2 separate regions of the Homo sapiens genome follow, and region 1 is linked to region 2. Evidence: promoter capture Hi-C in 16 types of primary human blood cells and fetal thymus (Javierre and others, 2016). All regions are on one chromosome and are shown on one strand. Each heading gives the region's core, a stretch centred on a gene start or on the middle of the fragment in contact. The rest is flanking DNA. Distances are from core to core; before and after follow the strand shown.

What was found. Contacts are between HindIII fragments. The CHiCAGO score rates a contact against its expected background, and 5 or more counts as called.
Region 1: a contact is called between the fragment with the promoter of SCAMP5 here and the fragment with the promoter of CYP1A2 in region 2, in 8 of 17 cell types (naive CD8 T cells, activated CD4 T cells, non-activated CD4 T cells and 5 more). The highest score is 9.9, in naive CD8 T cells.

The regions. Positions count from the first base shown.
Region 1 is chr15:74,993,163-74,998,046 of GRCh38, reverse strand. SCAMP5 (secretory carrier membrane protein 5) reads right to left here and starts at 2,484. Exons shown (of 7, transcript NM_138967.4): 1 at 2,374-2,484. The HindIII fragment of the contact is 14,301 bases long and covers 1-4,884 here.
Region 2 is chr15:74,745,867-74,750,359 of GRCh38, reverse strand. CYP1A2 (cytochrome P450 family 1 subfamily A member 2) reads right to left here and starts at 1,515. Exons shown (of 7, transcript NM_000761.5): 1 at 1,463-1,515; 2 at 1-630. The coding sequence starts at 621. RefSeq lists promoters at 622-1,759, 3,491-4,039, 1,425-4,493, an enhancer at 3,613-3,871 and a cis regulatory region at 2,846-4,493. The HindIII fragment of the contact is 9,803 bases long and covers 1-4,493 here.

The sequences.
Region 1 (4,884 bases), core at 1,235-3,734, 250 kb before region 2:
CCAGAGTCCTGGGGCTAACTCCAGGGCTCCCTGCTCACCAGTATGGGCCCCTCATCCCTGGCACAGAAATGGTGATTCCTTTTTGCTGCCCAGAGCCAACCTGCTAAGATGGAAGTTTCCCCCTCCTGCTCTACCTCCAATCCCCTCATCCCACTCCTAGCCCCATCTTCTGCCCTGAAATCCCAGAACTATGAATAATCCTCAGAAAACAGCAGTCTCCTGGCCATGCTGTCCCTGTCCTACTGATGACTATTCAGTAGCCTCCTACAGATCTTTGCCTGGCATTCAAGGCTTTGTGCCAGTCAGCTACAAACCTCCCTCCCACCACCTTTGGCTGCTCACAGGTTGACCTGCCTCCTACACTCCCAGCCTCATGCAGGAGATCATCTCTAGCCGCCCCCTCTGCTTCCAGTGCCCCTAAATTGGCAGCACTATCAGCTCCTCTAAGTCCTGCTACCTTCTCACATCCCACCCCTTCTGGGAAGCCTTTCCAAAAATCGCTGCTCTGCATCCCGCTGCATACATTTTGAGTCAGTCATTGGGCACTAAGTGTTCACGTCTTCTCCCATAATCTCCTCACTCCCTCCTGGATGGAGTTTCCAGGAGGGACCCAGCACAGAGCACAGTCAATCCATATACTTGCTTAAGACTTGGACACTTTCCCAATGGGTGGGAGGGAGGCAATTAACGCCCTCCCCCAATCAGATTAAGCCCAAAGCTGCTGTCAAACCTGCTGTATCACACTTCCTCCAGGAAACCTTCCGAAACTCCTGGCTGGCAGCAGGGAAGGAAGTGCAGCCTGTAAAGGAAATGCTGTGGGGGGCAAGGGGTGGGGATAGGGACAGGGAGGCAGAGGGATAGGGGAGGAAAGGAAAAGGAAGAGGGAGAAGAAAGGGGGGATGCTCTAAACTAGAACAAGGAGCATCCTCAAGGGAGGTCACTACTTAGTCCTATTATTTCATCTCTAGAGAAAGGTGCTAGAAAGAGATGCCCAGAGAGGGGAGGTGACTTGGGGAACTTGCTTGGAGGTGGCCACTCAGGAAACGGTTAAAGAAACAGCCACAGAGCCCAAGGTCTCTCTCTAGAACTCCCCTCCTGGGACCCCACTAACTCTCCAAGGGGTTTGCTAAACCTAAGACCCTCTTTCAGGGGCCCATTCACCAGAGACAGCCCCCTCTCAGCTCTAGAGACTTTGCCCTAAGGCTCACCAAGCCCAGAACAAACCTAAGTTAGCAAGACCTGTGTAGCCCCAAACAAAATCTCTCTGCCAATCATGCCCCTGCAAGAACCATCTCCCTCTTTCAGAGCCCTGCTCCGTGAGGCAGAACATGTAGGGGACAGGTTGCAAATTTCTCCAGACTCCACCACCCCATGGGCAGTCACATGGCTGAGCTCCCAGGCTCAGCCCCCAACAGCTGTGCTCGTTTTCATCCCTGTGCCTTTGCCCATACATTCTCCTGGAATGCCCTCTCTTGCCTCTCCTCCCACCCAAATCCCATCACCTCTGGAAGTCTCCTATTCGCTAGCTGTCGCCTCCCTTTCTCTCTGTGTCCCTGGGAAAGTCTGCCAGGCCCTCACTGATCTCCCCATCGGGAAGCTGGGACATTACTTGTTTAAGCCGCCTGTGACAGTGAATGCTCAGTCCGAGTCTCTACTTGGTTCCCCCAACCCACAGACCAGGAGCTCCCCGAGGCGGAGGACAAGGATCGGTTCACAAACACCTCACCTCCATCCTCGTGACCTCCGGCCAGCGTTGAAATGAGCCAAATCCGGCGCCCCCAACTCACCACCCAAAGCCCTGATGGAGCCCGCCTGGTGGCCTGGGCCAGCGCGCCCGTCGCCTCGCAACCCTGGGGCGGCTGAGGTCCGCCATCCAAAGGTCGGCCGCCCGAGGGAGGTGAGGGAAGTCAACCCGGGTCCACCTGCAGGCGCTAGTTGGAAGGAAAGGCCCAAAGGAAGCCACGGGCACCCCCTTCCAGTCGCCCCCATCCCCGGCTGCGCACGCCATCTCCAGAAGGCCGGTTTCCAGGGAACGCCAGGTGGGGCTGGCGGGGGGGATGGAGGGCCCAAAGCTCAGGCTCCAGATCCAGGGTCTGACGTCACCCAAAGGCCCAGTTCCCTCTGCGGGAGCCACAGATGGGAATGGGGGGGCTTGGGGGGCTCGGGGGGCCTGGGTGCGCCCTGAGCGCTCTCCCCCAGCCCCAAACAGTAAAGGTCACCTCCACTCCCACCTCTCCAGCAGTTCGGCCTTCTTCCTGCATCCAAAGGTGAAGTGTAGGAGGAACAAAGCTGCAGCCAGCGACCCCCACACCTCTCGCCCCGCGCCCAGCTTCCCTTCAAAGCTCTCCTCCCAGCCTTCATGCCCAGACTCACCTGCCGCGGCCGTTCGGCTGCCGAAAGGCCGCAGCGCTGCGCTGAGCTGCGCTGCACCCGAGCGATGCGGCGCGGAGCCGGCCGCGAGCCGCTCCGGGGCTGGGGGCGGGGAGCGCGCGCGCGCGCGCGCGCGCCCGAGGCCGTCTCTGCGCGCGCCCGCGCCGCCACTGCCTGCAGCAGTCACTCTCGCGAGACTTCCGCTCTGCTCCTAAGGCTGCTCCTCCTGAGCTCGCGAGAAGGACGACCCGGCCGCCCCGGCATCTTCCAGGAGCTGTCCGAGGTGCTAGTTCCCGGGCCCCGGCCGGATCAGGTGGTTGACGGGCACCTCAGGGACAAGAGCCTGGCGTGTAGGTGGAAGGAAGAGACCCAGAGATGGGAGCCTGGCACCAGCAGCCAGAGCCTCAGCTTCCATATCTGTAAACTGGGGAGAATAACCTCCTATACCTATGCCAGGAGCCTCTGGGACGTGCCAGAAAGGAGTGAGAAAGAGCTGAAAGCAGGAGAGTGTGGTGACTGCGGAAGGTCCTTCAGATCTGCAGGCGCAGGGGGAAAGAGAGAACAGAGGACGGAAGATCGGAGATGATATTCAGAGAGGCAAGGACACAGATCCACGGAAAGACGACATAGGAGGACGAGAAAGAAGAGCTGCAAACAGAGACAGAGACACACGGAGAGAGAGACTGAGATGAGAGCTCAAGGCCTGGAGAGAAAAAAGACATGGAAAGATAAGATAGGTAAGGGAGCATAATGAAGCAAGAAAGAGGCAAGAAATAGAGACAAATTACGCAAAGGAGCAGAGAGAGAGAGAGAGAGAGAGGAGAGGCTTAGAAAAAGAAAGAGACTCAGAAAAAGGAATGAAAGAGACAGTGATATGCAGAGATGAATACCAAGAGAGAGTAGAGGCAAGGGTAAATGTTTAAAAACCCAGAGCTTTGGAGGGTTGAGAGAGACCCACTTGGAGAGATGGGCTGGGAGTGAAGACAGGATTTTATTGTGATTGGTGTTTACATAGTAAACCTCCGTGGGATCTCTACAGGCAGGGCCAGGGCCACTGTCTGTCCTGCCAGCCAATTGCTCCTTCCCCTACACCATACACCCACCCTCCACCCCCCACCCACACCATCCTAGGCCTGGAAGGGGGCCTCAGTGGGTGGGAGACACTGCAGGGATTCTTTGCCTAGAATAAGGGCCCATTGTCTGGCTCCATCCTGCCAGGAGTGGGGCCTCACTCCCACAGCTGGCATGAAAAGGGGGTGGCAGTGAAAAAAGGCAGACAAGAACTAGTGTGGCAGAGGGGAAAAGGAGGGAGAGAGCCTCGGTGCCTGGGAAGGGCTGAGCAGGAAGCATCATCCTGCCACCAGGCCAACCAGGAAGGAAGGGTCCTGGGCTTCGGGGCAGGACAACTGGGTTCTGTGTCAGTCCTGTCCCTGGTTGACCCACATGCTGTCTCTCCCTGCTATAATGCAAGCCAAGGCTGATTTACAGAGCTGTGGAGAGCAGCCAATGAGATGACAACTGGGAACCTGTCGAAGTTATCAAGTGTGGCTGCTACAGGGAAAATGTTGGGAGTCCATGTGGGCCTCAGGAAAGATATAGGGGTTCACATAGGCCTTTAGGAGAGAGATCTGAGGTCCACACTGGGATCCACAAGGAAGATGTCTGGAAACCACATGGAATTTATAGGAGATATCTTGTGGTTCATGTAGGTCCTACAAGGGAAATATTGGGGTTCCCGTCTGATGACCACGGACAATTTTTCTCCACTCAGAAGAATCAGAAGGGTCTCCTATTTGATAAACAACTAACGTAGGAAGAGTGAGCAGGTCCAAAGTCAGAAGCCCACCTTTGTCCCAGTAGATTGTACCTTTCCTATTCAGGTAAATGGAAGGGAACAATGATCACTTAAACAAACGTTTACTTAATAGGCATTTGCTGGTTACCTACCATGAGAAGAAGCATACAGCAGTGGTTAAGAATATCAACCTAGAAGGCAGACCTTGCCCCTTCCCTGCAGTGTGAATTTGAGAAGGTACTAATCCTCACTGAACCTTAGTTTTCCACATATGTAAAATAAGGATGGTGATAATGGGACCCGTGTCTTAGGGTTCCTGCAAGGATGAAATGAATTAATACATGCAGACACATGTAACATATGGGACTGCCTGGTACACAGTAAGTATTTAATGATCTGTAAATAGATGGATAAAACAATTTTTAAAAATTAAAAATAAAGTATTTAAGCCAGGCACGGTGGGTCACGCCTATAATCCCAGCACTTTGGGAGGCCAAGGCAGGCGAATCACTTGAGGTCAGGAGTTCGAGACCAGCCTGGCCAACATGGTGAAACTTCATCTCTGCTAAAAATACAGAAATAGCCAGCCATGGTGGTGTGCACCTGTAATCCCAGCTACTCAGGAGGCTGAGGCACAAGAATCCCTTGAACCCAGGAGGTGGAGGTTGCAGTGAGCCTAGATGACGCCACTGCACTCCAGCCTAGGCGACAGACCAAGA
Region 2 (4,493 bases), core at 266-2,765:
CTGTCCGAAGCACATGGCACCAATGACGTTGGCCACTGACACCACCACCTGATTGTAAGGGTCGAAGTGCCCAGGCCCTGCCATCAGCTCCTGCAACCTGCTGATCAGGGCCTTAGCCTCCTTGCTCACATGCTCCTCCAGGTAGCAGGAGGATGAGGAAGCTGGGTCAGAGGCGATGGAGAAGGTGTTGAGGGCATTCTGGGCCAGGCGCCGGCGGGCAGCCCACACCGGTCCAGAGTCTGTGCTGAAGGTCAAGCTCTGGCCATCAGTGATGAGGGTGGAGGTGTAGAGGTCAGGCCGGCCCTTGAAATCGTCGCCCTGCCGCACCAGGGCCTGCCGGATGGTGTCCAGGCGGCTCAGCACCAGCACGGGCGTGGAGCCAATGCGGATCTGCAGGACGTCCCCGTAGCGCTGGCTCATCCTTGACAGTGCCAGGTGCGGGTTCTTCCCCAGGGTCAGCACATGCCCGAGCAAGGGCCAGCCCCATGGCTCTGGTGGACTTTTCAGGCCTTTGGGGACCCGAGGCCTCAAACCCTTGAGCACCCAGAATACCAGGCAGAAGATGGCAGAGGCCAGGAGAAGCTCTGTGGCCGAGAAGGGAACAGACTGGGACAATGCCATCTGTACCAACTGCAGGGAAAAAAGGAGGGACCAGGCTGAGGGTTGAGATGGAGACATTCATTCATTCATTTCCTCAGTCATTTGATAAACACTGATGCGTGTTCTGTGCTTGGCTCCCAGCTGGATACCAGAAAGACTAAGCTCCATCTACCATGCGTCCTGGGCCCACAGAGCTCACCCTTTGAGCATCACAGAATCTGAGAGCTGGAAAGGAGCCTCAAGATTCCCAACATGAACGCTGGCTCTCTCCTCCACACATCATCTCAGTTTCCACTTCTGGGGCTGGAGTAGAGGCAAGTGACCACTCCAAAATGGGGAAGCCAAGGACAGCACCCTTGTCAGCCCCTGGCACAGCATGCATGCTGGGTATTGTACCAAAGAGTCCCTGCCAGTGCTGGCTTTCTGCTGATACCTTCCATATACCCAAGGGACCAGGAGTTCCCCCTACCCAGTGACACTGAGGTGGCCAAGGTCCCAGGGCTGGTTCAAATAGCCTGTGATGCCCCCTCCCCAGGGCATTCTTTATCAATACCAGGAGGGGCACCTCCTCCAGGGATGAGTCCCCATCCTCTCACAGTCTTGGAGGTTGGGGTTGGGCTTCAGCCAGGGCCAGGGCTGCCCTTGTGCTAAGGGGGAAGCCCTCCCCATCGCTCTCCTTAAAAATGGCTTAGTCCAAACTGCTCATTTAAAATCGGGAAACAGAAGTCAAGAGCTGGGTAGCAAAGCCCGGAACTCAGGACCCCTACACCTAGCCCAGGCTCCCCGTCTTTCTGTCCCCACTAGCTTCCAGGTTCTATAGTTGGGGATCCCAGAGATTGTAAATTGGTCCCAAGAAAGGTACCTGTAGAGGCAGGTGCTTGAGATTGGCAGGGTTGTAATGGCTGGTGTGGAGCTTCTGGCTCTAGGTGAGTGGCCTTTTTATAAACACCGCCCCCTATCAGATTGGCCTGGTTGTCCTGATCACCTGATATGAAAGCTGGATCACTGAACAAAGTTGGAAGGATCAACTCTTGGCCTTGGGCCATTATCCCTCAGCTCCACCTACTACCTAAGACCCAGGGTGACTCTTTGGGGATAGGCCAGAAGGGGTGCTGGGTCCCTGGGGATGAAGGTACAGCTGTCTTTAGGGTTCAGGGTAGGGAGCCTATTTCTCTGAAGAGTAGGGTAGGGTCTGGGAGTGGGGGTTAGGCCTTTGGACTGATCTGGGCTTCTTTCCCACTGCACACATGAGGAAGAGCTCTGCCAGGGCACTCAGTCTAGGCCAACCAGGCTCACGGCCCCTCTCCAGAGGGATGTTCTTCTGTAGTACCCTCCAACAACCTGCAAAACCAAACAGTAAATGGGCGTGTTCCAGCCACTCCTGATTTTCAGCCCAAGTCCCCAAGTGGAAAAGAAGAGATGATAAAGATTTTGCATCCTAAAGAGAGGCCCCCCTTATGCAAAAAGACTAAGAGACATAACCAAATGCAATATGGATTTGCATTTGATTGCCATATCGATTGGATATGGCATTTAAACAAAATTTTAAAAAAATCTATAAAAGATGTTTTGGGGACAATTGGGGACATGTAAGCACGGACTGGAGATTAGATGATATTCTGGAATAAATGTAAATTTTTTTAGGTGTGAACAGAGTGTCATGGTATGTGGGAGTGTATCCTTATTCTTAGGAGATTAATGCTGTAGCATGGAAGTGTCATGATCCCCACAACCTCCTTTTGAATGGTTCTGTTAAAAAATGTACACCTCTAGGCCAGGCGCGATGGCTCGCACCTGTAATCCCAGCACTTTGAGAGGCCGAGATGGGCGGATCACCTGAGATCAGGTGTTCAAGACCAGCCTGGCCAACCTGGTGAAACTCCGTCTCTACTAAAAATACAAAAATTAGCCAGGCATGGTGGCATGTGCCTGTGATCCCAGCTACTCGGGAGGCTGAGGCAGGAGAATGGCTTGAACTTGGGAGGTGGAGGCTGCAGTGAGCCAAGATCGTGCCACTCCACTCCAGCCTGGGCGACAGAGTGAGACTCCGTCTCAAAAAAAAAAAAAATGTACACCTTTAAAGAGTGTAATTGGATTGTTTGTAACTCAAAGGTTTATCCTTGCTTGAGGGGATGGATACTCCATTCTCCATGAATGCTTATTTCATATTGCATGCCTGTATCAAAACATTTCATGTACCCCATACATATATACACCTACTATGTACCCATAAAATTAAAACAATGTATACCTATCTATCAATAAATCGAGAGAAAGTAGATATGAGAAATGTCAGATATTCATGGACTTACGTGAGGATATATGGTGTTTGTTGTACTAAAGGAGTCTTTAATATGGACCCAGATCTCAGTCAGATCTAAGAGGAGGAGGAGGACAAGCCTTAAATTGGATGTGAAAAGGAAGTTTGCTATCTTTTTTTTTTTTTTTTAGATACAGAGTCTTGCTCTGTCACCCAGGTTGGGGTTCATGTGCCACAATCATGGCTCACTGCAGCCTCGACCTCCTGAGCTCAAACAATCCTCTTGCCTCAGCCTCCTGAGTAGCTGGGACCACAATCACAGGTGTGTGCACCATGCCTGGCTAATTTTTTTATTTTTAAACATTTTTTTGTAGAGAGGAGGTCTTGCCATGTTGCCCAGGTTGGTCTTGAACTTCTGGGCCCAAGCAATCCTTCTGCCTTGGCCTCCCAAACTGCTGGGATTACAGGTGTGAGCCACTGTGCCCGGCATGGATGTGAGAGGGAAGTTTTGATTTAGACTGGAGTGGGCTTTTATTCCTGAAAATGAGAAAACTGTGGGATCAACCTGTGAAGATGCCAAGGCAGATGGATGGGGAATCCAATAGAGAAACAGAGCATGTTTGAAGGCCATGAATGGGAGAAGAGGAAAGTTGTTTCCTGTCTATATCTCCATTGGGTTCAGATGACTCAATGAAAAAGGTCAAGGTTTGAGGTTAGGCTCGGTTTTATAGAAAATGGACTCTTTCTTTCTCTCTGTCTGTCTGTCTCTCTAATTAACTAAAGTTCATGGTTTACTTAGATTTCCTTGCGTTTTACCTAATGTCCTTTTCCTGTTCCAGGACCCATTGGATATCACATGACATTTAGTCATCACGTCTCTTTGGATTCCTCTTGGCTGTGACAGTTTCTCAGGATATCCTTGTTTTTGATGACCTTGACAATTTTCAGGAGTACTGGTTGGACATTTTGTAGGATGCCCACTATTGGAATGTGCCTGATGTTTTTCTTCTCATGGTAAGCCTGGGGTTATGGTTTGTTGGTGGGAAGACCTTGGAGGTTAGGTGCCATTCTCGTCACATCATATCAGGGTTACATCCTATCAATGTGACTTACAGATGTGGATGTTGACCTTGATCACCTGGCTAAGGTAGTGCGTGTCAGGTCTCTTCACTGTAAAGTTACTCCTTTCCCACCTTTCCATACTGTACCTTTTGGAAGGAAGTCACTATGCACAGCCCACACCGAAGGAGTGGGGGATTACGCTCCTTCTCCTTGAGGGGGGATTATCTCCATAAACTATTTGAAATTCTCCTGTATGACAGACTATTTATCTTTTTATTTTTAATGTTTTCTTAAAACTTAAAAAAATTAAATTACAGGATACAATATAGAAAAGTGCATATGTCAGCTGGGACCGGTGACTCACACCTGTAATTCTAGCACTTTGGGAGGCCGAGGTGGGAGGATCACTTGAGTGAGGCCAGGAGTTCAAGACCAGCCTGGCCAACATAGTGAAACCTCATCTCTACTAAAAATACAAAAAAAAATTAGCTGGGCGTGATGGTGCACACCTGTAATTCCAGCTACTCGGGAAGCTGGGGCATGACAATTGCTTGAATCCGAGAGGCGGAGG